5 separate regions of the Homo sapiens genome follow, and regions 1, 2, 4 and 5 are each linked to region 3. The links are contacts of gene promoters, found by promoter capture Hi-C in blood cells and fetal thymus (Javierre and others, 2016). All regions are on one chromosome and are shown on one strand. The core of a region is centred on a gene start or on the middle of the fragment in contact, and the rest is flanking DNA. Distances in the headings are between cores, read along the strand shown.

Region 1 (4,709 bases), core at 634-3,133, 380 kb before region 3:
ACCTTCATCTGAATGTGTCTTTATTTCCTCCTCATTCCTGAAGGATACTTTCACCAAACATACAACTCACAATGAATAGTTTTTTCTTCCAGAACTTGAAAAATTGTTTCCACTTCCTTGTAGTATCATGGCTCCAGATGACTCTTTTCAGGATATTTTTTCTTTGCCTTTCATTTAATTATGATGTGTTTTGGCATGAGTTTTCTTGGGTTTATCTTATTTAGGGTTCACTTAGGTAATTTAATCTATAAGCTTAGTTCTTTTGCCATGTTTAGAAAGTCTTCACCAATTATTTCTTTCTCTCTCTCTCTGTTTCTTTTTTTTTTTTTTTTTTTTGAGATGGAGTCTCTCTCTATTACCAGGCTGGAGTGCAGTGGTGCAATCTCGGTTCACTGCAACCTCTGCCTCCCAAGCTCAAGCGATCCTCCTGACTCAGCCTCCCAAGTAGCTAGGACTACAGGCACATGCCACCACGCCCAGCTAATTTCTGTATTTTTAGTAGAGACAGGGTTATCACCATGTTGGCCAGGTAGGTCTTGAACTCCTGACCTCAGGTAATCTGCCTGCCTTGGCCTCCCAAACTGCTGGGATTACAGGCATGAGCCATTGTGCCTGGCCCATTATTTCTTTGCATACTTGTTCAGCCCTATTCTCTTTGTCTGCTTATGAATGTTAGATCTTTTGTTATAGTCTCACAGGTCCTGAAAACTCTGTTCTTTTTTTTTTTTTAAGTCTTTTTCTCTCTGTTGTTCAGATTGAGTAATTTTTATTGTTTTATCTTCAGGTTCATTGATTTCTTTCTTCTGTCATATTCATTCTGCCACTGCACCCATCCAATAAGTCTCTTTTTTTCAACTATTGTACTTTTCATTTCTATAGTTTTCATTTGGTTCCTTTTTACATCTTTTACTTCTTTAGCGAGACCTAATTTTTTTTTCATTTGCAAAGTATATTTGTAATTGCTCTTTTGAATGATTTTTGTAAGATGGCTACTTTAAAATTTTTGTGAGATAGTTCCAACCTTGATTCACCCTGGTATGGTGTCTGTTGATTGTTTCTTCTCATTCCATTTTCAATTTCCTGGTTCTTGGTATGACAAGTGAATTTTGATTGTATCCTAAACATTTGCACATTATGACTTTAGATTCTACTTAAATCTCCTTTCCTAGCAGTCAGTCACCCTGTTTAAGTTTAGTGCATAGGTCCTATTCCTGCTTTTGTGGGCTATGGTTCTTTTGTGTTTTGTTTGTTTGTTTTTGTTTTTGTTTTTTGTTTTTTTTTGAGACAGAGTTTCACTCTCATTGCCTAGGCTGGAGTGCAATGGCATGATCTTGGCTCACTGCAACTTCCACCTCCCAGGTTCAAGTTATTCTCCTGCCTCAGCCTCCCGAGTAGCTGGGATTACAGGCATGTGCCACCACACCTGGCTAATTTTGTATTTTTAGTAGAGACAGAGTTTCTCCATGTTGGTCAGGCTGGTCTCAAACTCCTGACCTCAGGTGATCTGCCCACCTCAGCCTCCCAAAGTGCTGGGATTACAGGCTTGAGGCACCACGCCCGGCCTGTGGTCTGTGGTTCTAATGACAGTAGAGTTTTCGAAACCTCCGCGGTGCTGTTCTTGCCCGTGTCCTTCCCTTGGTCCGAGCTGGTGGAGTGCACTTCCCCGGTACACTGGGTGTCGGTGGGAAATACCAGCACTTGCGACGAGAGCATTTTCCTCATTTGCTCTCAGCCACCTGGTGCCAGCTTTCATCGTCCGTGCAGGTGAAAGGGGATCTGGAGGCATCAGGTTCTGCAGGGCAGTGTGCCCCTTGCCTATTTTTCTCTGCGCTGCCAAAGGGACCTCTACCTGTCCCACTGTGGGAGGAAAGCCCCTGTCTGGGCTGCCTCTGCTCTGGGATGAGGGGACTGTGATTACATGGGCCTGTGTCACCTTCTACCACTGGGTGAAAGAGGTATGAACAGTAAAATTAAAAATATAAAGTCAAGATGTGTTTAGAAAATGAAATTTTCTTGTCTCTCTCTCTGCTAAGAGGAATCAATTTTATATTTTAGCTTCATTTTGGTTCTTTAGTCACTTTGAGTTTTAAAATGCTGTCTCCTTCAGAGAGCTTTTCTGCCAAACCTAATCACTTTCCCCCCATTCTTGATGCTCCTGAGGGAGTCTTCTCCCACTCTTGGTTCTTCTCCTCCTTCCTCCTGGTGTATGAAAGGGCCCATTGCTCATTAGCAGAGGGCAGGGAGGGCCTGTGGGCTCCTGCAATCAGGCACGTGTCTGTGGTCCCCTTCCTTAGCCTGAGATCTCCAGACTCAGCAGCATCCAATGCTGGCTCCTCTGTGTAGGTCACTGGGTGGCCCTGGGACTCCCTCGTTTCTCCTACAGGTTCCATCCTGCACAGAATTTCCCCAGCCCCAGCTCCCTCCAGCCCCTGCTCCTCTTTGCTTCTGTGTGTGACCTATTGTGGGCTGGCACATGGGCCATGTTCCCAGGCATTTTCTACCTCAGCCTCTAGTGCATATGATTACGGAAGTCTTTGCCCTGCCATGGGGACCTGCACAGATACCTTCCTTGCCAACTGGTATCCTCAGCTCTGCTGTTGCTCGTCTCTCTCCTGACTTTCTCCCATGCCCTGACAGAACTTTCTGCCGAATAACTCACATCCAAGAAGCAAACCCTAGCCACTCTTCCCATAATCTTGTGTCTCCCTAAACATTATTCTGCCTCCTTTGCAAACACCTCAGATTCACTTTATTTCCTTTCTACTCTTCCAAATTGTTCTTATATCTTCTCCCTCCCGTCTCTCTCCCTCCCTCCCTCAATGACTAGACATTGTCAGGTAAAGGTCAGGCCTGGTAGACCAGTTGGAGTCACTGCCACATTGCCTCAAAAGCTGCACCTGGGGCCTCCACCAGTACTGAGTGACCATCCTGCTCCCACAGCCTCTTCACTTTTCCATTTAAAAATGCTTTTCTTGCCACCTCCACTTCCTCCCTGTTGAGGAAAGATAGCCCTCCTGGGTCTCTCACACCACTGCCGGTTACTCTGATTTCCACAAATGCCAAACCCCGATCACGCTTTATCTGCGTCTTTTCTCAGGGCTGTTCGCAGCAGGCAACCTTGAGGGATGGGGTAATGTCTCTCTCTGGACAAAGAGGAGGCTTGTTTGCTGCTTGCTATTAAAGCGATGGATTTCTCATGTTCATATTCTTCTCGTACAACTTACTTTATGTGCCGGTGTCATCTGGATGCTCCAGACCAGCCCCATAGGAACGTGGGGGACAAGAAAAACGAACACAAACATGCAAATGCTAAAATGAAGCAGAAATTCGTAGTCATTTGGGTGAGGTTACAGGAATACTTTCCTTCCCCTGAACGATCCATTTTAACATTTTCCTATACAGTACCAGATGCTTAGGTAATTGCTTGCCCTCTCCCCTAATCCTTTTTGCTTTGACTTTGTATTTTTAGCCTAGAAGTCTCCCGCTGAGCAGAACAATATGGCACTAGGGAGATTAAAGCTTTGACGTGATAAATACTTGGGACTTGAGACCTTTTCTCGGAAGGTACATTATCGCCATTCAAATTGCCCAGGAAGTCTTGTGCAATGATACACATTTTAGCATCTCTTTCAATGCCTGCTCTTATGTCTGATAATATGAAGAAAGCTATACCTAACATAACAAGGTGCTTCCTCTTCTATCCCTGGCTCCTCCCAAGGGACATGAAGAGATGCTAGAAGAATACAAGGGGGTAAAGAACCTTGGATCTGAGTCAGAACAGAAAAAAAAACAACATGGAGAGGAAGAAACCCTGAAAACAAGCCTAAGGACCTCAGCACCCACTACAAAAAAAAAAAAGAGTCTGGAGAGGGGACTGGACTGCAGCTTTCTTAACACTAGGCCCCAAATAGCACAATCACTTCTGCTACTAAGTCACTACTGGCCACCTATCTGCATTGGCAGGGGGTGGGGGAGGTTGTGGGGGGGTAGGAATGTTGAGCTATGTGCCCAGGAAGCAGAGAAAATGGGGTTTTGTTGGACAGCTGGCAGGCTCTGCCATGGTGGAGGAGGAGATATCGGAATCAAGTCTTATTATTTTTCTCTTTCTGAGTCACTTGATCTTTTTTAGAAGATGCCCAAATTATCTTCTCTTTATTTTTGAAGTCTAATTGCTTTACCAGGGTATGGCTGAGTGATGACTTTTCTATATCATTTTCCTCCATAACATGGTGCACTTTTTAAATCTGCAGATTTGATTCTTCTCTCATTTCAAAAAAATTATTTTGAATCATCATCCTAAATACTTACATGTTACATTTGTTTAGTCCTCTTCTATAGGCACATAAATCCATTTTTTTAAACAAATACACTTATAAGATTTACTGTTATCACAAGGTCACATTCCTGTAGAATATAGAAATATGTGTAGCTTTCAGTTTACTGTCTGCATTTTTTGTTTTTAAAGAGAAGAGGTCTTGCTCTGTCACCCAGCCTGGAGAGCAGTAGTGTGATCATAGCTCGCTACAGTCTCTTAACTCCTGGGCTCAAGCAGTCCTCCCATCTCAGCCTCCTGAGTAGCTGGAACTATAGGGGCATAACACCATGCTCAGCTAATATTTTTTAATTAAAAAAAAAATTTGTAGAGATGAAGTCTCATTTTGTTGCCCAGGCTGGTCTCAAGCTCCTGGCTTCAAGCAATTCTTCTGCCT
Region 2 (4,514 bases), core at 266-2,765, 440 kb before region 3:
TCTCTGGAAAAGCCACTTTGTGTGGTTCTGATTTCTCTCTCTCTTTTCTAAATGTCTTTGATAAATTTAAGCATGTTTTTGTAGTCAGCCATTTCAAATAGTAAGCAAGGAATGAATTAAACACACACACATACTTTATTCTCTCAATCACAGGTCAGCAAATTTTTTCCATGAAAGGCCAGATAGTAAATATTTTAAGCTTTGCAAACCTCTATCACAACTACTCAACCTTGTTATTACAGTGGGAAAACAGCCCTAGACCAGTCCTGAATGAACGAGCATGGCTGTGTTCCAATAAAACTTTATTTTGGACATTTATTACAGTCACTAAAACTTGAACTTCACATACTTTTCACATGTCACTAAATATTCTTCTTCTCCCCACTGTCCTGCCCCCCCAGGCATTAAAAAATGTAAAAAAAACTATTTCTAGCTTATAGGTGGCATAAAAGAGGTGGTGGACTGTAGTTTGCTGCCTTCTGCTGTAAACTGTCGATGATTATGACCAATAAATTATTACTAATCGTTTTAGTGCTGTCACTAACAGTAAGCAGATGCCCACACAGCTAGATGACTTAGAGAAAGGGCCCCAGTGCTGAGGACATTTCCTCTCAACAAAGCCAGACAATTGAAAAATAGAAATTTTGATTAAAAATCTATTTTCTTCGGTTCCAATGATCTCTGTTTGTGGCTAGCTCCTGTTTGATTTCTGATCAGTAGTCTGGGATGGGCTATCTTACATGAACTTCCTGATGATCAGGAGATCTCTTTTTCTCTTCTGTATTCCTCATATTGAAACTGCCTCCCGCACTCCCCCCACGCCCCCCCCACCCCTCCGCAATTTTGTAAAATCAATTAAGAAAAAAGAAAATAAAATCCAACTAGGCTTGAAACAGCCATCTTTAGGTCGGCTTGCCCTTTGGCCCGCTTCTGGGTTGCCGTTCTGTGGATAAAGTCTGAGGCGCTGTGAGGCCATCAGCTTTCTGTTCGAGCTGCTTCTTCAGGTTCTGCTCAGCGACAGACACCAGCTGGTGTGGAGGGCCCAGGAGGAAGCTGGCTCAGGAAGGAATGCAGTTTCCACATCCTGATGATTTCATCCCCTCACCCAGACCAACTGACCATCCAAATTTCCCAGCCCCTCACCTCCACAAATCCCCTTAAAAACCTTTGCCCAGAACCCCTCAATGAAATGAGAGGCTTGAGAACTACCCCCCTTTCCTCACTGAGCACTAGTGATGACGAAACTGTTCTCTGCTGCAGCCCTCTACAGCTGTGTTTGTCTGTTGCACAGCAGACATGTGACCTGGGCACCATCTCACACTCTGACCCATGAGGCAGCCGCTGTACAGACTCGCCTCCTGGGCCCCTCTGGAGCCCCGTTTCTCTGCCGTCTGATTGCCTCTGGCCTGGCCCAGGTCTCTGTCAGCTCTAGCCTGCACATGGCCTGTGCACGGCTGGTCTCCTGGCTGTTTGTCTTCTTTGCTTTCTATCTACCTGCCCTTCACTCAACTCCAAAGGGAGCATCTGACCAGGACTCCTCCAGGTGTGAGACCCTGCCCTGACTTCCCTGTGGGTTGGGGGTATCTATTTCCTCTTCCTCGAAGATACATCTTGCCATTAGGTGACTGTGTAACTAATTCACAGGCAAAAAATGTGAATTTTTTTTTTTTTGAGACGGAGTCTTGCTCTGTCGCCAAGGCTAGAGTACAGTGGTGTGATCTCGGCTCACTGCAACCTCCACCTCCCAGGTTCAAGCAATTCTCTGCCTCAGCCTCCCGAGTAGCTGAGATTGCAGGCGCCCACCACCATACCGAGCTAATTTTTTTTTTTTTTTTTTTGTATTTTTAGTAGACGTGGGGTTTCACCATCTTGGCCAGGCTGGTCTTGAACTCCTGACCTTGCGATCCACCCACCTCAGCCTCCCAAAGTGCCGGGATTACAGGCGTGAGCCACCGTGCCCGGCCGAGAATGTGAATTCTTAATCCTCTTGTGCCTCAACTTCTTCTTCTGTAAAATGGGGCCAATTATGGGAGGACTGCCTGAGAGCATTTCCAGGTGCACTGAAGATGCATGAGAAATATTAGTTCCCTTCTCCTGTTTCTACTTTTTAGTCTCATCCCTGAGGCCAAGAGTGAAGTTGAAGAAGACACTTAATTCTCTGTGATGCATTCTTGAATAACGAAAAGCAAATATTGAAGTCTTTTATTCTCTAGCCTTAATAGCCTTGGTCTTTTTGACCACATTGAGACATCCTGGCTCCAGGTTCCTGTGCTTGAGGGCAGCTCTCTACCAAGGGTGCACCTGATGTAGCCCCCACTGAAGACCCAGCATCTGGAGCTGAAGGTAGCACCTTGAATGCAGTTTGGTCAGAGCCTTGTCTAGTGGGATTATTTTTCCCCTAACGTAATCAAATTTTCTAATAAAACACTCAGCATTACACCTTAAGGAATGAGAGAGCTGTAGTTTCTCAATTTGGTATATATATATTATATATATATAATCAATATATAATCAATCAGGTGATTGATTCTCTCACCTCAGCCTCCCGAGTAGCTGGGACAACAGGCACAAATCACCATGCTAGGCTAATTTTTTGTATTTTTAGTGAAGATGGAGCTTCGCCATGTTGCCCAGGCTGGTCTCGAACCCCTGAGCTCAAGTGATTGGCCTGTCTCGGCCTCCCAAAGTGCTGAGATTACAGGCATGAGCCACCACGCCTGGCCCCCAATTTGGCATATTTTAAAAGAAGGAAATGGGTAATGAAATCATTTTGAAAGAAAAGTGCCTGGAATAACTGTTTTGTACAAAATGTTAAAAATTTAATGAAAAAAAGAAGCTTTGTAGACAAATAGAGAGCTGGGAAGTGGCAGGAACTCTGATCATTATTTGAGCAAGCTCTTTGCTCCTGTGTCATGACTGACACCACAGCTTATCTTGATAGAGCTATGAGATGACTGCGCTCATGTGTTCATTCATGCCAAGAATCTTGTGATATTGCTACTAGCACCTTGAAATGCATTAAACTATAATTTTGATAATTTTCAATAAAATATATGACAACTTTATCAAAGGGAATGGGGGTCTTCTTGTTATAATAAATGTTTCCTTTTTGGTTTGTAATTCTGAAGGAGATATATGTCTTCAAATTTGACCCCCAGGAGACAGGCAGCTGGTGCAGCATAATCTCTCCCATTCTCCCATTCCTGCTGAGGAGAGGCAGAAGTCTAGATCGGGGGTCGTGAAGTAAGCTGTCAGCTGTGATAGCTTTGGAGCTGTTAACCACTGCACCAAGGCTAACCCTTCCCTCTGAAAGATTTTCATCCTGGGCCCACGAACCTGCCTCTTCCTTGCAGCTGTGTGACTGTCCCAGCTTGCTCATCTGTGGATATCAAGTCCTTCCCCAGCCTGTTGCTCTCACCACACCTATATCAAGACTGACCTGCTGCATATCTTCCCATCAGCTAGAAAATCACCACTGTGAGATCTAAGCTAAGAGTCCTCTTCTCACAAGAAGCAGCTTCCGTATCACGAGAGTTGTACAGCATGGTCACAGGTCAAGATGCTCAAGAACAGGGATCAAAATCCCCAGTGAGATGCCAACTTTTAGATAGGCTGGCCCAACCCAAAATGTCTGGCAGAACTTTCATGTTGTGTAACTTTGGGTCAAAAAAGAAATTCTGTGGCCAAAATTAAACTACATTTTTTTGTTATTGAAAGTACTGAGACTTTCTGCCAGGCGCGTTGGCTCACGCCTGTAATCCCAGCACTTTGGGAGGCTGAGGCGAATGGATCACGAGGTCAGGAGTTCGAGACTAGCCTAGTCAGCATGGTGAAACCCTGTGTCTACTAAAAAATTAGCCGGGCATGGTGGCACATGCCTGTATCCCAGTTACTCGGGAGGCTGAGGCAGGAGAATTGCTTGAACCCGGGAGGCAGAGGTTGCAGTGAGCCAAGATCATGCCACTGCACTCCAGCCTGGACAACAGAGCAAGACTCTGTCTCGAAAAAAAAAAAAAAAAGGAAGTACTCAGACTTTCATGAAATGTCTGTTGTTTGATTGAGAAAAAATTTTATAAAAAGATGAGACAAAAACGTCCAAGGAATTTTCTCTTTGGAGAAAATGTTTTCCAGTGGAAAACGACATGCAGAGAAGGCCTTTGGTGTGTTACTGGTGGGCTGATCCCAGACTCCCCAGTCCATTTTGAACAAGCATCAGTGTTGAAGCTTTGACCTCACTGTGATGTCAGGGAAGATGCCTGCTGGCCAGGGAGCTTTCTCCCAGACATTGCCACCTTAGCAAGGTCTCTACTGCCTAGTGTCCACAGTTATTTTCCATAGACCCATAGCTATAAACTCAAGTTAACCAAACTCTCAAGAGACCTCAAACACGAAATATATATATATATATATATATATATATATATATATATATATATATATATATATATTTTTTTTTTTTTTTTTTTTTTTTTTGCGATGGAGTCTCGCTCTGTCACCCAGGCTGGAACGCAGTG
Region 3 (5,003 bases), core at 397-2,896:
CTCTCGCTCAAAATAATCAATATACCAAAGCGGCATATTTTAGGATGGCATATTTTGGTTTCATTCACTGTCTTTAAGTTTTTGATATTTTGTTCATTATAAACTTTTTTTGCATTCATTTTGACTTTTTAAGATATTGTATTAAAACATTATTTACCTTGACTACTGAGTTTTTTTGTCGCGCCCTTAAATTTTGCCCCTATGCGAGTGCCTCGCTCGCTTGCCTCCTTCTAGCCCGGGTCTGGCAGGGAGTTGAAATTATTTTTCTCACTGCTGAATTCCCAGGGCCTACAACAGTGCTCGCCAAAAAATTAATACTCTTGGTTCTTCAAATAAAACATTCTGTAAGGACTGCTCCCAATTTCTTCCTGAACTTCACGAACCCTCCCAGCCAGGCCACAGGATGTCAGGGGCAAACACCCTGAACCAACGGAGCTCAGGTTCCCTACCACCCCGCCCAAGCCCGCTCCAAGCCCAATTACCCTTCCCCTTCCTCGTCGTCCCATCCTCCCTGATGCCTCTTCCAGGGTGCTGGGCCGCGCGGCAAGAGCTCCAAGGCAAGATTCAAATGCCCTGGGGAGACGGCTGCGGGACACCTGCGGCGGGGCCCGGCAGGGAGCGCGAGACTGGAAGAGAGGCCAGGAGGGAAGGAGAGCGACGCGGGGTTTTGGGGGAGGGGCTGCGTGGGGCGCTGAAGGGGAGCGCGAGGAGTGGGAGGAAGTGAAGGAGGAGGAAGAGCACGGTGTGGGGGAAGCGCAGGAGGCAATAGGTGGGGCGGGACGGAGGGCAGGGCGCTGCGTCGGGAGAAAGTGTAGAAGCGCTGGGGAGAGTGCCCACGACGGGAGAGCCCAGGGGCGCGAGGGCGCGGGAGTGTGGGCGGGGCGCAGTGGGGATGGGGGCGGGGGCGCGGGATGTGGTAGGGGGCGTAGTGGGGAGAGAGTGCAGGAGTGTGGGCAGGGCGCAGTGTGGGGAGGGTGCGGGAGTGTGAGCGGGGCGCAGTGGAGGGAGTGCAGGATGTGGGCTGGACAACCAGTGGGAGAGGGCGCGGGAGGTGGGCGGGGCGCAGTCGGGATGGGGGCGGGGGCGCGGGATGTCGGCGGGCCGCAGTGAGGGGGAGGGCGCGGGAGTGTGGGCGGGGCGCAGTGGGGGAGGGAGCGGGAGTGTGCGCGGGGCGCAGTGAGGGGAAACTGTGGAATGTGGGCGAGGCGCAGTTGGAGAAGAGTGCGGGGATGTGGGCGGGGCGCAGTGAGGGGAAACTGTGGAATGTGGGCGAGGCGCAGTTGGAGGAGAGTGCGGGGATGTGGGCGGGGTGCGGTGGGGGAGGGTGCGGAGATGTGGGCGGGGCGCAGTGGGTGGAGAGTGTAGGGATGTGGGCCCAGCGCAGTGGGGGACAGTGTGGGGATGCGGGCGAGGCGCAGTGGGGGCGGGGGCGGGGATGTGGGCGGGGCGCAGTGGGTGGAGAGTGCGGGATGTGGGCGGGGCGCAGTGGGTGGAGAGTGCGGAATGTGGGCGGGGCGCAGTTGGGGAGCTTGCGGGGAATGTGGGCGGGGCGCAGTGGTGGGAGGGCGCAGGAGTGTGGGCGGGGCGCAGTTGGGGGAGGGTGCAGAGACCTGAGGGCTTGAGGTTGCCTGGCTGGCCCCGCTCCCAGAGGCGGGTGCCGCGCTGTCGCCCAGGTATCTGGGGTCTCTGGTGTCTGAGTGTCTCATTGTCGGCGCGAACACAATTGCTCCAGCCACAGGCGAGGCCTGGCCAAGGTGTGGGCGCATCTGGGGCAGGTCTTGAGAGGTCCAGCGCCCGGTGGTGCGGACAGAGGCGGGGCACCGCGGCGCTCGCCGCCGCCTCCCCGCAGGTGATCATCCTCCTGCAGGTGTCCTCGGGTCTCAGGTGGCTGCGTGTCTGCGCCATGGTTGACATTCTGGGCGAGCGGCACCTGGTGACCTGTAAGGGCGCGACGGTGGAGGCCGAGGCGGCGCTGCAGAACAAGGTGGTGGCACTGTACTTCGCGGCGGCCCGGTGCGCGCCGAGCCGCGACTTCACGCCGCTGCTCTGCGACTTCTATACGGCGCTGGTGGCCGAGGCGCGGCGGCCCGCGCCCTTCGAAGTGGTCTTCGTGTCAGCCGACGGCAGCTCCCAGGAGATGCTGGACTTCATGCGCGAGCTGCATGGCGCCTGGCTGGCGCTGCCCTTCCACGACCCCTACCGGCAGTGAGTGGGGGTCCTGGGGGGGCGGGGGCCGCCCGGCACGTCTCCCCCATGTTCCCCCAGGCCTCCCCCTCTGCACTGGGGAGCTCTTTATGACGCCCCCCCCCAACACCTCCCCGTCTCTCGGTTCACGTCCGGACTCCGGTAAATCACACTCAGTCTCAGTTTCAACCTCTCTTGGAGACCAGGGAGGGTGCAGACCAGATTCGAAAACCCAGGGCATCGGCACCCCAAGGGGGCTCGTGGAGCATGGACGCGGGCGCGTTTCTGCCTGGGGTCTGGAGCTCCGGGAATCTGCATTGCGAAGGAGCTCCCAGTGGTGGTGATGCTGTGAGTTCGCGGGCTCGGCTCCGGGAACCGCCGGCCCAATCAGCCCTGGACTCCCGGCGCCGCTGCGTCATCCTCCCAGTTAGTGGGCAGGAAGCACAGGGACATGACCCGGTGTCTGGATGCGGGGATGAGGGATGACCCGCGAGGACATCAGCTCTGTGACAGGCACCCACAGTGCAGGCCGTGGTTGGTTTGCTGGGAGGGAGGGACGGGGGCTTCAAGGCTGGCAGGAACCCAGGTGCTGGCCACCTTTGCGGTTTCATTTTTACCGACACTGATGGAATTTCATCACTAGAGAAGCATAAAACTCATTACTATAAACTTTATTACTCTAACTGTTGCAAAGGAGGGGGTAGGGATTGGCAGAGAGGGGATTACAGGGATTGATTGTTCTGCTTTTGGGGTGGGTCTCCTGTGGTCTCCTATGGTGTAAGAGTCCAGACTTAGGTTTAAAGCAGGCCTCGTCAAGTATGTTGTCCTGGCCACCCCCTTCTAGGTACCAATGTGAATTTCTGGGTTTTGCTTTACAGCCTCACATTTCTGGAGATTATCATTAAGTTGTGGCATTACCCCCTAAACTGATTATCATGAGATGACATTCCTTCTGGAAAATGAAAACTGGAAGCTAACTTTGGAAAGTTTTGTAGATGAGTAATTAATGGGAAGAAATCTAATTATTCCCCCAAACATGATTTTTGGTGATTCCCAGTGAAAGAGGAGGCCCAGGCAGGGCACCGCCCAGCCTTCCAGGGGGGTAACCTGCTTCTGGGAGCCTCACTCACACCGGGACTCTGAAAGTTCTATTGATAATGAATCTCCAAGATGGGTGGTTCACTTTGCAAAAGGATTTCTTACAGAATCAGTTCAAGTGGTGCTTTTAAAAACAGGATTGGACTTGTTTAGTACTCAAGTTATTTGTAAGCTTTTGAAAGAACGCAGGTTTGAAAGCGAGAGACGATGGCAGTATCATTATAGTAATTAGGCACAAAGCTCTGGCCCAGCTCTGGGATTTACTTGCCAGGTGATGGCAGGCAAGGTATTTTATTGCTGAGCATATGATACATCACGTGGTTGTTGTCAGGGTTGAGCTGATCACATATGAGCTCATGTGTCCGCTGGTTATGTCCCAGCTCTCTAGTCTATTGCCCCATTTTACAGATGTGCCATTGAGGCATAGAGTTCAGTTCTCCTGGCTCTGAGGACCCTCTTTCTGCCGTGCCCTACTTCCTCACTGAGGGGGTGGTGAGTCTTGGTCCCCAGCGGCACACAGATTGGACTGGGGAGGTCATCGCTTGGGGCCATGGAGACTGCTCGTCTGTTTCTGATGCTCTGGTCAAGCCTGTGAGCTCCAGCTGGAGGCAGTGAGCTGCGTGACGTGGGTCAGCTGTGTGCTCCTATCTTCTCAGCCTGGCTGGCCTGGGAGGGATTTTTCTTTTTGTAAACTTAGCTGTTTGTCCCTACCCCTTTCCACACTGAACTTCCTTAACTCTGTTGTTGTCATGTGTAAGCTAGGTAGTGGGATATTCTGTGGGAATTGTTGGAGCTACGCCCTAAATTCTGCTTATCCTACGTCTACAGGACCTTGGTGTTCCCATCTGATTGGCTCTTGGTTCAAAGACCAATCCGGTTTAGCCATGCCTTGCTCCAACTCTCCGGGGGTTTCCTGAGTTTCCATTGCCCACAGGACAGAGCCAGACATGGTTCAGTGCCTGGCATCCCCAGGGAGTGTGTTTGGTGAGTAGTTGAAGCAAGTGAGCAAAAGACAGTTCTGCAGAGAGATTTGCTTGGCCACAGCCTGCTCCTGGCTGAGATGACAGACTAGAGTCAGGAGTTGCCATGGCAACCCAGAAGTGTGGTTTATGCCAGCAACAAGGATGTGGCTGTGTTAGTTGAAGGCAGGGACCAACGCTGGTTGCAACAGTGCTGAGGACAAGGAGGAACTGGGCTCTTGGATTTTCCCCAAATGCTTAAAGTCCTAAGTTATTACCATGACAACATTCTCTCCTCCAAAAGCAAGTTCTTTTCTCTGTGGACACAGCTCAGGGCCCAGAGGGGATTGAGATGACATTAGGGAAAAAGTGAGGTTCTTTGCCTCTCATGTGCAGCTCCAAGGTTACATTTGTCCCCAGGCAGAGGCTGCCAGCATGGGGATTTGAGGGCTGGTACTGAGTGTCTCTTGGAATATCAGTGAAATGACCACCTCCACCCTCCTGATTCCTCAAAGCCCAGCCTGCTCTGCATCCCCCTGACTGTGTTAGAGCTTGATTTAATGTTGCAAGTGATTAAAACAGCAGCAATGAGAACAACTCAAAGAGCTTGAACAGTAAAGGTTATGGGCTGGCTTTAATGAGACACCCATCAGCCAGAAGATGGTGTCAAGGGCAAGCTGGAGGCCACGGAGGATGCAGCTTTGTGGCTCGCCTTCTGCCACGTCTGCCCCTTGCTCAGGCTGCAGGCAGTTGCTGCCTGGC
Region 4 (4,999 bases), core at 355-2,854, 390 kb before region 3:
TTTTCTTCCAGTTTTTACCCTGTCTTTTTATTAACAGGCTCTTATGCAGGGCAAAAGTTTTAAATTTTGATAACATCCAATTAATAAATTCTTAGAATTGATTGTGCTTTTCTGGTGTCATGTCTAATAATTATTCATCAAGTCCTAGGACCTGAAGAATTTCTCATTAAATTTCATATTTTTACATTGAGATGTGATCTTTTTTTTTTTTTTTGAGATGGAGTCTTCCTCCATCTTCATATCTGACCACCATTGGTATCTAATTGGTTTTCTTATTGTCTACCATCCCCAGGTGATATCTGATCACTCTGGCATGGCTTCAGCAAGAATTCTGTGAGGTCAGTTTAGCCAGATTCCCTCCTATTAGTAATTTTCCATACACTACCACCCCTCCACCCTGCTCTGTGGCTATAAAATTTCTATTCAGAGGGAAACCTGAATATATGGAAACTGGAGATTACTGCAAGACCCTATTGCAGTAATCTCTATATCTATTGCAATAATCCCTCTGAATAACGTTTGTCTTACTATTTTTTAACAGGTGTCACGAATAGTTTTTTCTATAATACAGCTCAACAAAACAAGTCTGAAATAGAAGAATAAAGTGGGAGGAATTATTCTACCCAATTTTTTAACTTTTTACATAGCTACAGAAATCAAGACAGTGTGGTATTGGCAGGGGGACAGACAGTTCAATAAAACAGAATTGAGAACTCAGAAATAGTTCCATACAAGTACAACCAACTGACTTTTGAAAAAAGTGCAATATCAGTTCAATAGTACAGTGGTTCTGGAGCAGTTAGATACCATAGACAAAACAATAACCTCAATCTAACCTCATGTCTTTATTAAAAAAAAAAAGGATCAGCCGGGCGCGGTGGCTCATGCCTGTAATCCCAGCACTTCGGGAGGCTGAGGCGGGAGGATCACGAGGTCAGGAGATCGAGACCACCCTGGCTAACAAGGTGAAACCCAGTCTCTGCTAAAAATACAAAAAAATTAACCGGGCATGGTGGCAGATGCCTGTAGTCCCAGCTACTCGGGAGGCTGAGGCAGGAGAATGGCGTGAACCCGGGAGGCGGAGCTTGCAGTGAGCCGAGATGGCACCACTGCACTCCAGCCTGGGCGACAGAGCGAGACTCCATCTCAAAGAAAAAAAAAAAAAAAAAAGATCACATATCTCAATGTAAAAATATGAAATTTAATGAGAAATTCTTCAGGTCCTAGGACTTGATGAATAATTATTAGACATGACACCAGAAAAGCACAATCACACACCTGTAATCTCAGCATTTTATCAGGACAAGCTTTCTCTCCGGAGTGAAAAGGCGAGTTAATTTATCACAAATCAAACAACGTTAAATAACTAGCCTTCAAGAGCTGAGATAAAGAATATGTGCTGATGCTGAGCATATTGGGTTGGGTTCCCCTGAAAAGCAAGGGCTGAGCCAAAGGAATGCAGGTAATTCCAGAGAACAGAAATGGAGGACTGCAACAGGAAAGGATGGGAAGGTAATACAGGGTGAATTCTCAAGTGACTCGTTTCAGGCACCTAGTGCCACTGTCTGTGGAATCTTGGTGTTTCCATCAGCTCCTGTTTCCCAATGACCTGTAAGATGGTAACACCCTCACGTTCCATGGGTGCCAGAGAGCTTCCCGCAGTGTTCTCAAGCCCTGGGAGAGAAGTCTGGTCTACACCCTGCAGTGGAGGCCAAGTACAGTGTACACAGTTGGGTCCTGCCTGCCTGAGGATCGCTGCTGGAGATGTGTGCAGAGAGGATGGGAGGGGTAGGGCACTATGAATTAGACATCTAATCCAGGAGAGCATTTTCATTTGCACAAGGTGATAACCAACCTGAATTGAAAGAGTAAGGATGTAAGCTAGACGTTAGGAAACGCTCCCAAGCTTAGCAGATAGGAGGTACTGACAAGAATTAGTAACAAAGAAAGGTCCAGGTGCAGTGGCTTATGCTTGTAATCCCAGCATTTTGGGAGGCTGAGGCAGGAGGATCACTTGAGGTCAGGAGTTTGAGACCAGCCTGGCCAACATGGTGAAACCCTATCTCTACTAAAAATACAAACATTAGCTGGGTGTGGTGGTGGGTGCCTATAATCCCGCCTACTCGGGAGGCTGAGGCAGGAGAATTGTTGAACCTGGGTGGTGGAGGTTGCAGTGAGTAGAGATTGCCCCACTGCACTCCAGCCTGGGTAACAGAGTAAGACTCTGTCTCAAAAATAAAAAATAAAATAAAATAAAAATAAATAAATAAAATAATGAAGAAAGGATGGGTGACTTCCCTGCAGACTTCACTGACAGTACTCAAGAAAAATCTTTCTGCAATGATAGGCCCTGGATGGAAGAAGGAGGAGACTGCCCCAGACACTCTTGGCATACCAACGTTCTGAGAGTTTGGTTCTAACTGTTCGAACTATGTATTTCCTCTTTCTTCCCTCCCTCTCTCCCTTCGCCCCTCCCTCCCTCTCTTCCTTCCTTCCTTCCTTCCTTTTCCTTCCTTCCTTCTTTCCTTCCTTCTTTCTGTCCCCACACAGCTCTTCAGTCCTGTTACATCAGTTTTCTTTTCTCTGCTAAGTTGTATTCTGAATTCTATTCAATTTAAACTCAAATTCCTAATAGAAAGTAGAGCAATACCTGGATATCTGTTCTTAATACATCGTTTGAGGTGGGGAAGGCAGGTATTTAATTTGATTTATTCACCAGTAAGTGGCACTGAAAATAGTCATTGGTGGAAAAATCAGTTTTTCTTATTTTCAGCATAGAGATTATTTTAATGTGAAATTCATTCCTTTTATAATTATAAACCATTTGATTTAGACCAATTATTGATCAAAATTAGACATTTTAAATATTGCTGATGTAGTTTTTAGTCCTATATAATTTCATGATATTTTCCACATATTAAACTCTCTCAATTCAAATAATTTGGGTACATTTTGGAAATTCCCATGTAATGTAATATGTCACACATGAATTTTATTTATGAATATAATGTTTAAATATCATAATAATCTAGAGAAACAAGTGAGAAGAATGACAGACAAGAAAAAGCAAAAACAAATCTATGGTCATAAAAGTATAAATATTCACATTCATTTTTATTTTATTAAAAACTTTTATTTATATAAATTTATGGGTACAAGTGTAATATTGTTATATAAATCCATTGCATACTGGTGAAGTCAGGAATTTTAAAGTATCCGTCACCCAAATAATGTACATTGTATCCATTGTGTAATTTCTCATCATTCCCTTCCCCACCTTCTCACCCTTCTGAGTCTCCATTGTCAATTATTCTGCACTCTACGCCCATGTGTACACCTCATTTAGCCTCCACTTATGAGTGAGAACATGTGATATTTGTCTTTCTATGTTTGTCTTGTTTCACTTAGGGTAATGACCCTCAGTTCCATCCCTGTTGCTGCAAAAGACATGATGTCATTCTTTTTTATGACTGAGTAGTATTCAAGTGTGTATAATACCACCTTTTCTTTATCCAATCTGCCATTGATGGATACTTAGGTTGATTCTGTATCTTTGCCATTGTGAATAGTGCTGTGATAAACATATGAGTCCGTGTTATCTTTTTCTTTTTTTTTTTTTTTTGAGACGGAATCTCGCTCTGTCACACAGGCTGGAGTGCAGTGGCACAATCTCTGCTCACTGCAAGCTCCTCCTCCTGGGTTCACGCCATTCTCCTGCCTCAGCCTCCTGAGTAACTGGTACTACAGGCGCCCACCACCACACCTGGCTAATTTTTTTGTATATTTTAGTAGAGACGGGGTTTCACCGTGTTAGCCAGGATGGTCTCGATCTCCTGACCTTGTGATCCATCCGCCTTGGCCTCCCAAAGTGCTGGGATGACAGGCGTGAGCCACCGCACCTGGCCGTGTTATCTTTTTAATATAATTCTTTCTTTCTTTTTGGGTAGATACCCAGGAGTGGGATTGCTGGATCATGTAGTAGTTCTATTTTTGTTTCTTTGGGAAATCTCTGTTCTGTCTTCCACAGAGGTTGTACTAATTTACAGTTGCACTAACAGTGTTATAAGGGTTCTCTTTCTCTACATCTTGCCAACATCTGTTATTTTTTGTCATTTTAATAGTCATTCTGATTGGTGTTAGATGGTATCTCGTTGTGGTTTTAATTTGCATTTCTCTGATGATTAGTGATGTTGAACTTTTTTTCAAATGCCCGTGGGCAATTTGTATGGCTTATTTGAAAACTCACTATTCATGTCCTTCTTCCACTTTTTAATGGGATTCTTTAGAGGTATTTTTGTAGAGTTGTTTGAATTTCTTGTAAATTCTGGATATTAGTCCACTGTCAGATGTATTCAAACTCATTTTAAAATACATATTCTGCATGGCAAAATAAAACGAAACAACATAACCCCAAACACACACATCTGCTGACTTTCATAGTCAATACTAGGGAATTAGCTGAAGCGGGACAAAAGATACATACACATATGCCTTTGGCATCCAGATAGACAAGCTGGGTCTGTTAGGCATTAATAGGGAGCTCTGGAAACTGCAGTCTACTGCAGAGCACGCGCCACACCCAGATAATCTTTTTTAAAAATCTGTAATTAGCTTTATTAACAGTGTAACATTTTCATGAATTCTTAAATTTTGTTTTAATTTTCACAATATTACAGTTTAAAATATACAGTTTAATAACAAGCATGTTAATTCAAATCAACAAATATTCAAGCCTACATGAAAGAAGAATGAAATGAGATTACCTTTTTATATAATCAGCTGAATTCTTTTTAAGGGCAAAAAGTTAATATTGGTATTTAAAAACCTACATTTCCAATGTTTCTGCTGGCCATCCAATCCAACCATATGTATATTACTTAGGCCACAGGACTGCCCATTAGTCTTTCCTGTCAGAGAGCAATTAGCCTCTGAATCATTTTTGCTCAGCACCAGCTTTCTCTATAAATAAATTTGGATGGGCCAGGGAATTGTCATCTTG
Region 5 (4,534 bases), core at 383-2,882, 320 kb before region 3:
TAGCAGGAGGAATCAAAAAATAATTCAAGAAGATATATCATAACTGAAGAATTTGACTTGCCAAATGAAAAGGATCCACCAAATGGGGAGCACATTAAATGAGATTTGTCCCCCATCAAACACATCATTAGTGACCTTCAGAATCCTGGGAACGGAAAGATGACTTTCCAAGTTTCCTTAGAGGAAAAGCAGGTCAAATGCAAAGAGTAGGAATCAGAATGGCTTTGAAATTCTCAACAGCAACAGTAGAAGCTAAAAAACAATGGAGGATTATCTTCAACATTCGGATTGCCTATAGATTCTTCAATACCCAGACAAAGTATGAATTAAATGTGAAGATGGAATAAAGACATATTTAGACATGAAGAAGTTGCAAAATTTACTTTCTATTCTATTGTCTCTGGAAGCTGAGAGGATGTTGTTGATCAAAATGAGGAAATAAAACAACAAAGAACATGATTAGCATTCAGAAAACAGTGGGTTCCAAACAAAGGAGAGATGAAGGGAGTCCTCAGGACAGGACAGGAGAAAGAGTCCAGGATGCCAGCCACAAGCAGGCTTGGAGAACAGACAGCCCAGAACTCTAGAATATTTTTTCAAGAAGACAATAATAGTGCTAATGTGTTTGAACACATTGAGAGAAGCTTTTCATGACTGAAGTAGAACTTGAAATGCGTAAGTGATAAATATATGGAAAAATAAGCAACCAACAAAAGATTATTATTAACTCAAGAACAAACATAAATTTGTTAGAAACTGTAGGGTAGTGGCCACACCTACAGAATACAGATCCAGAATGCCTGGGGTTCAAATTCTGGTTTTGCCACTTAACGGCTGAATTACCTTGGGCAAATCACTTCATCTCCATGGTCCTCATATATAAAATCAGGATTATTATAACAGTCTTGTGAAAGTTTTGTGAAAATTAAAGTCCTTGGATCTTTTTCTGGCCCAGAGAAAGCCCCATGTAAATGTTAACGGTCTTTATTTTTTATTTTATTTATTTTTTTAGAGACTGGGTCTGGCTGTGTTGCCCAGGATGGAGTGCAGTGGTGCGAGCTCAGCTCACTGCAGCCCTGACCTCCCGGGCTCAGGCAATTCTCCTGCTTCAGCCTCCTGAGTAGCTAGGACTACAGGTGTGCACTGCCACACTCAGCTGATTTTTTTTTTTTTTTTTTGTAGTAACAAGGTCTTGCTGTGTTGCCCAGGTTGTATTAACTATTGTGGTTGTCACGACCACTACCACCGTCACCATCATCATTGTATATGGTCCATGGTTCAGCTGGAAAGGTGCAACTAATAAAAATGCTGACTACTAAGCTTAAGAAAAAAATGTCTATTTAATTAGATTGGGAGAAAGTGAAGACAGAAATTGCTTGTCAGGTTAGGAAAGGGAAGGAGGGAAGGAGATAAATCATCTTCCACATTGGGAAGTCTTAGAGAAATTTTTAATCTGCAAAACCAAATAAGTAACAATATAGGCATTTTTGTTGAAGACATGGAGGAAGATATCAAAAGGTTAGCTAAGAAAGTTTACAAGAGTTGCTCTGTGGGAGTGGGAAATGGGTGAATAGACACAGGGAACTTATTCTTTGTAACAATCTTCGTCAATTAGATGTATAGATATTTTAATTCTAAAATTAAAACAACGTTTTTCTTTGAAAAAGAAATCGCCATGTCAAGTTGTTTCACTGGATAATTCTGTTTAAGGAAGAATCAATGCTAACAATAAGCAATTTTTTCCAGATCATATAAGAAGAGAAAATATTTCCCTTCTCATTGTATGGGACCAGTATCACACTAATACCAAAACCAGACAAAGAATTACAAAAAAAGAAACTTACAGATCAATATCCTTCATGCATGTAGACACAAAAACCTTTAAACAAGTATTAACAAATAGGCTTCAGTGATTTTTAAGAAGAATTACACACCATAACTAAATGAAGCTTATTCCAGAAATGCAAGGTTGGTTCAATATTAAAAAATCAGTCAATGTAATCCACCACATTAACAGAATAAAATTCACATGATGTTATCAATTGATGCAGTAAAGTATTTGACAAAATTTGTTTATTTAAATAAATTTTATTGTGTACAAACATGATGTTATAAGATACATATATAAGAAAATGGTTACTATAGTGAAACAAATTAACATCTCCATCATCTCATTTAGTTATCCATAATTCCTCCTGTGGCAAAAACAGCTATAATCTACCCATTAAGGAAAAATCCTGAATATGATACCCTATTATTCACTGTAGTCTTCATGCTGTTCATTAGACCTTTCCACTTGTTCATTCTACATATTTATTTGCTACTTTGTATCTTTTGACCTAAACCTCTCCATTTCCTCCCCAACTCCAACCTTGGTAGCCACTGTTTTATTCTCTGTCTCTATATACTTGATCTCTTTTTTTCTAGAGACCCCACATAAGTGAGATCATGCAATATTTTTCTTTCTGTGTCTAGCTTATTTCACTTAGTATAATATGTTCCAAGTCCACCTATGTTGTGGCAAATGGCAGATCTTCCTTTTTGTTGTTGTTTTTGTTTTGTTTTTAGACAGGGTTTTGTTCTGTCACCCAGGCTAGAGTACAGTGGTGTGATCTTCACTTACTGCAGCCTCGAACTCCTGGGGTCAAGCAATTCTCCTGCCTCAGTCTCCCTAGTAGATGGGACTACAGGCATACACCACCATGCCCAGCTAATTTTTATTTTTTTTTATAGATATGGGGCTCTCATATATTTTTTATAGATATGTTGCCCAACCTGGTCTTGAACTCCTGGCTTCAGGCTATTCTCACATCTTGGCTTCCCAGACTGCTGGGATTACAGGTGTGAGCCACTACACCCGGCCAAGATCTCCTTTTTTTTTTTTTTTTTTTTTTTTTTGAGACGGAGTGTTGCTCTGTTGCCCAGGCTGGAGTGCAGAGGTGCCATCTTGGCTCACTGCAAGCTCTGCCTCTCGGGTTCAAGTCATTCTCCTGCCTCAGCCTCTCGAGTAGCTGGGACTACAGGTGCCCACCACCATGCCCGGCTAATTTTTTGTACTTTTAGTAGAGACAGGGTTTCACTGTGTTAGCCAGGATGGTCTCGATCTCCTGACCTCGTGATCCACCTGCCTCGGCCTCCCCAAAGTGCCGGGATTACAGGCATGAGCCACTGCACCCAGCCCAAGATCTCCCTTTTTAAAGGCTAAATAATATTCCATTGTCTATTTATGCCATAGTTTATCCATTCATCCATTAATAGACACCTAGGTTGTTTTCATACGTTGGCCATTGCGAAAAATGCTGCAACATGGGTGTGCAGATATCCTTACCAGGTAGAGATTTCATTTCCTTTGGATATATGCCTAGAAGAGGGATTACTAGGCTGCATTTGACAAAACTTAATACCTTTCATGATTTTAAAAAAATTCTGAGAAAACTAGGAATAAAGGTGAACTCCCTCAACCTGATTAAAAAAAAAAATTCCTGCAAAACATAACAGTGAAAGACCGAATGCTCTCCTCGTGAAATCAGGAGCAAACACAGCAAAGGTCCCCACCCTCACTACTACTATTCAACTTAGTCCTGGAAGCTCTAACCCGTGCAAAAAGCAACAGAAGGAAATAAAAGACACAGTTACAGCCTATTCTCATTTAAATTTAGGGGTAGTTATGTTCCATAAAGTCATTGCAAACATCAACTTAGCAAAAGCTAAACCACAGGGTTAGGTTCCTTCCAGGCTCCAGACATAACATTTTCACCAACCAAAACACCATTTACTCTATATAGCTTTGTTTGCTAACGTCCTTGTAAAACAAGTAAGTCTCATCAGCGTTGAAAATTTGCTCTCCCAAATAACGCTTTTCCTATGTAACACTTAGAAGGTGTTTTTAAAGTTCTTCCATAGCCTCCCTATCTACAGAACCTGCCTCTCCTGCGAGGTTAACATTTTTCACACCACATTGCCTTTTGAAACATGCAAGCCAGCCCAGTACTAGCCAAGAGAGGTCTGGCATTTTCCTGACCCTGAGTAATGTGACTGCAAATTTCTTTGGCTTTCAGTCTCACAACTCTGTCCACTATGATTTGGGGGCTTGGGGATTTTCTTTAGTCATCAGCTAATGAATCCATAAATTTAGTTGCTTTTCTATCTTTTCTGTTGTTTCGTCATGCTCTATAGATATTACTTTAGCATTTTCTGGAGCAGCCTCAAGTGCAGATTGGTGAATTTCCTCTTCCTTTTTATGGATGAACCATATTTTTGATTCATTAACATTGAACTCACAATCAACAGCACTATATATAACTCATGCCGGAACTGAGCTTATCTAACACATGAATTTTCTCCATAAGGCACATTGCAGCCTTCTCACACTCAGGAACACTAGACATTTCAGCACTTTGCTGGGGACCATTTTAAATCGTGACATCACCAACAAAAAGCACACAAATGCAAAAACCATCCACCAATGTGTCCCCCTCAACTGCAAAGATGACAGCGTATCCCAGTGTGTTTAGTGAGGGATGCAGACACTCCC

What was found. Contacts are between HindIII fragments. The CHiCAGO score rates a contact against its expected background, and 5 or more counts as called.
Region 1: a fragment that was not itself captured here is called in contact with the fragment with the promoter of NXNL2 in region 3 in 1 of 17 cell types (M1 macrophages); the score reaches 5.1 in M1 macrophages.
Region 2: a contact is called between a fragment that was not itself captured here and the fragment with the promoter of NXNL2 in region 3, in 2 of 17 cell types (M1 macrophages and megakaryocytes). The highest score is 5.6, in M1 macrophages.
Region 4: a fragment that was not itself captured here is called in contact with the fragment with the promoter of NXNL2 in region 3 in 1 of 17 cell types (M0 macrophages); the score reaches 5.4 in M0 macrophages.
Region 5: a contact is called between a fragment that was not itself captured here and the fragment with the promoter of NXNL2 in region 3, in 1 of 17 cell types (total CD8 T cells). The highest score is 5.9, in total CD8 T cells.

The regions. Positions count from the first base shown.
Region 1 is chr9:88,157,827-88,162,535 of GRCh38, forward strand. No RefSeq gene overlaps it. Among named protein-coding and RNA genes, the nearest start is that of SPATA31C2, 22 kb to the left of the region's middle. The HindIII fragment of the contact is 3,267 bases long and covers 251-3,517 here.
Region 2 is chr9:88,091,883-88,096,396 of GRCh38, forward strand. No RefSeq gene overlaps it. Among named protein-coding and RNA genes, the nearest start is that of LINC03026, 16 kb to the left of the region's middle. The HindIII fragment of the contact is 2,637 bases long and covers 198-2,834 here.
Region 3 is chr9:88,533,532-88,538,534 of GRCh38, forward strand. NXNL2 (nucleoredoxin like 2) reads left to right here and starts at 1,647. Exons shown (of 2, transcript NM_001161625.2): 1 at 1,647-2,205. The coding sequence starts at 1,904. LOC105376134 (a long non-coding RNA gene) reads right to left here and starts at 1,009. Exons shown (of 2, transcript XR_007061653.1): 1 at 483-1,009. RefSeq lists enhancers at 1,433-2,267, 2,268-3,101. The HindIII fragment of the contact is 6,313 bases long and covers 1-3,452 here.
Region 4 is chr9:88,139,971-88,144,969 of GRCh38, forward strand. It overlaps the pseudogene RSRC1P1. Among named protein-coding and RNA genes, the nearest start is that of SPATA31C2, 4.0 kb to the left of the region's middle. The HindIII fragment of the contact is 599 bases long and covers 1,306-1,904 here.
Region 5 is chr9:88,211,398-88,215,931 of GRCh38, forward strand. No RefSeq gene overlaps it. Among named protein-coding and RNA genes, the nearest start is that of SPATA31C2, 75 kb to the left of the region's middle. The HindIII fragment of the contact is 629 bases long and covers 1,319-1,947 here.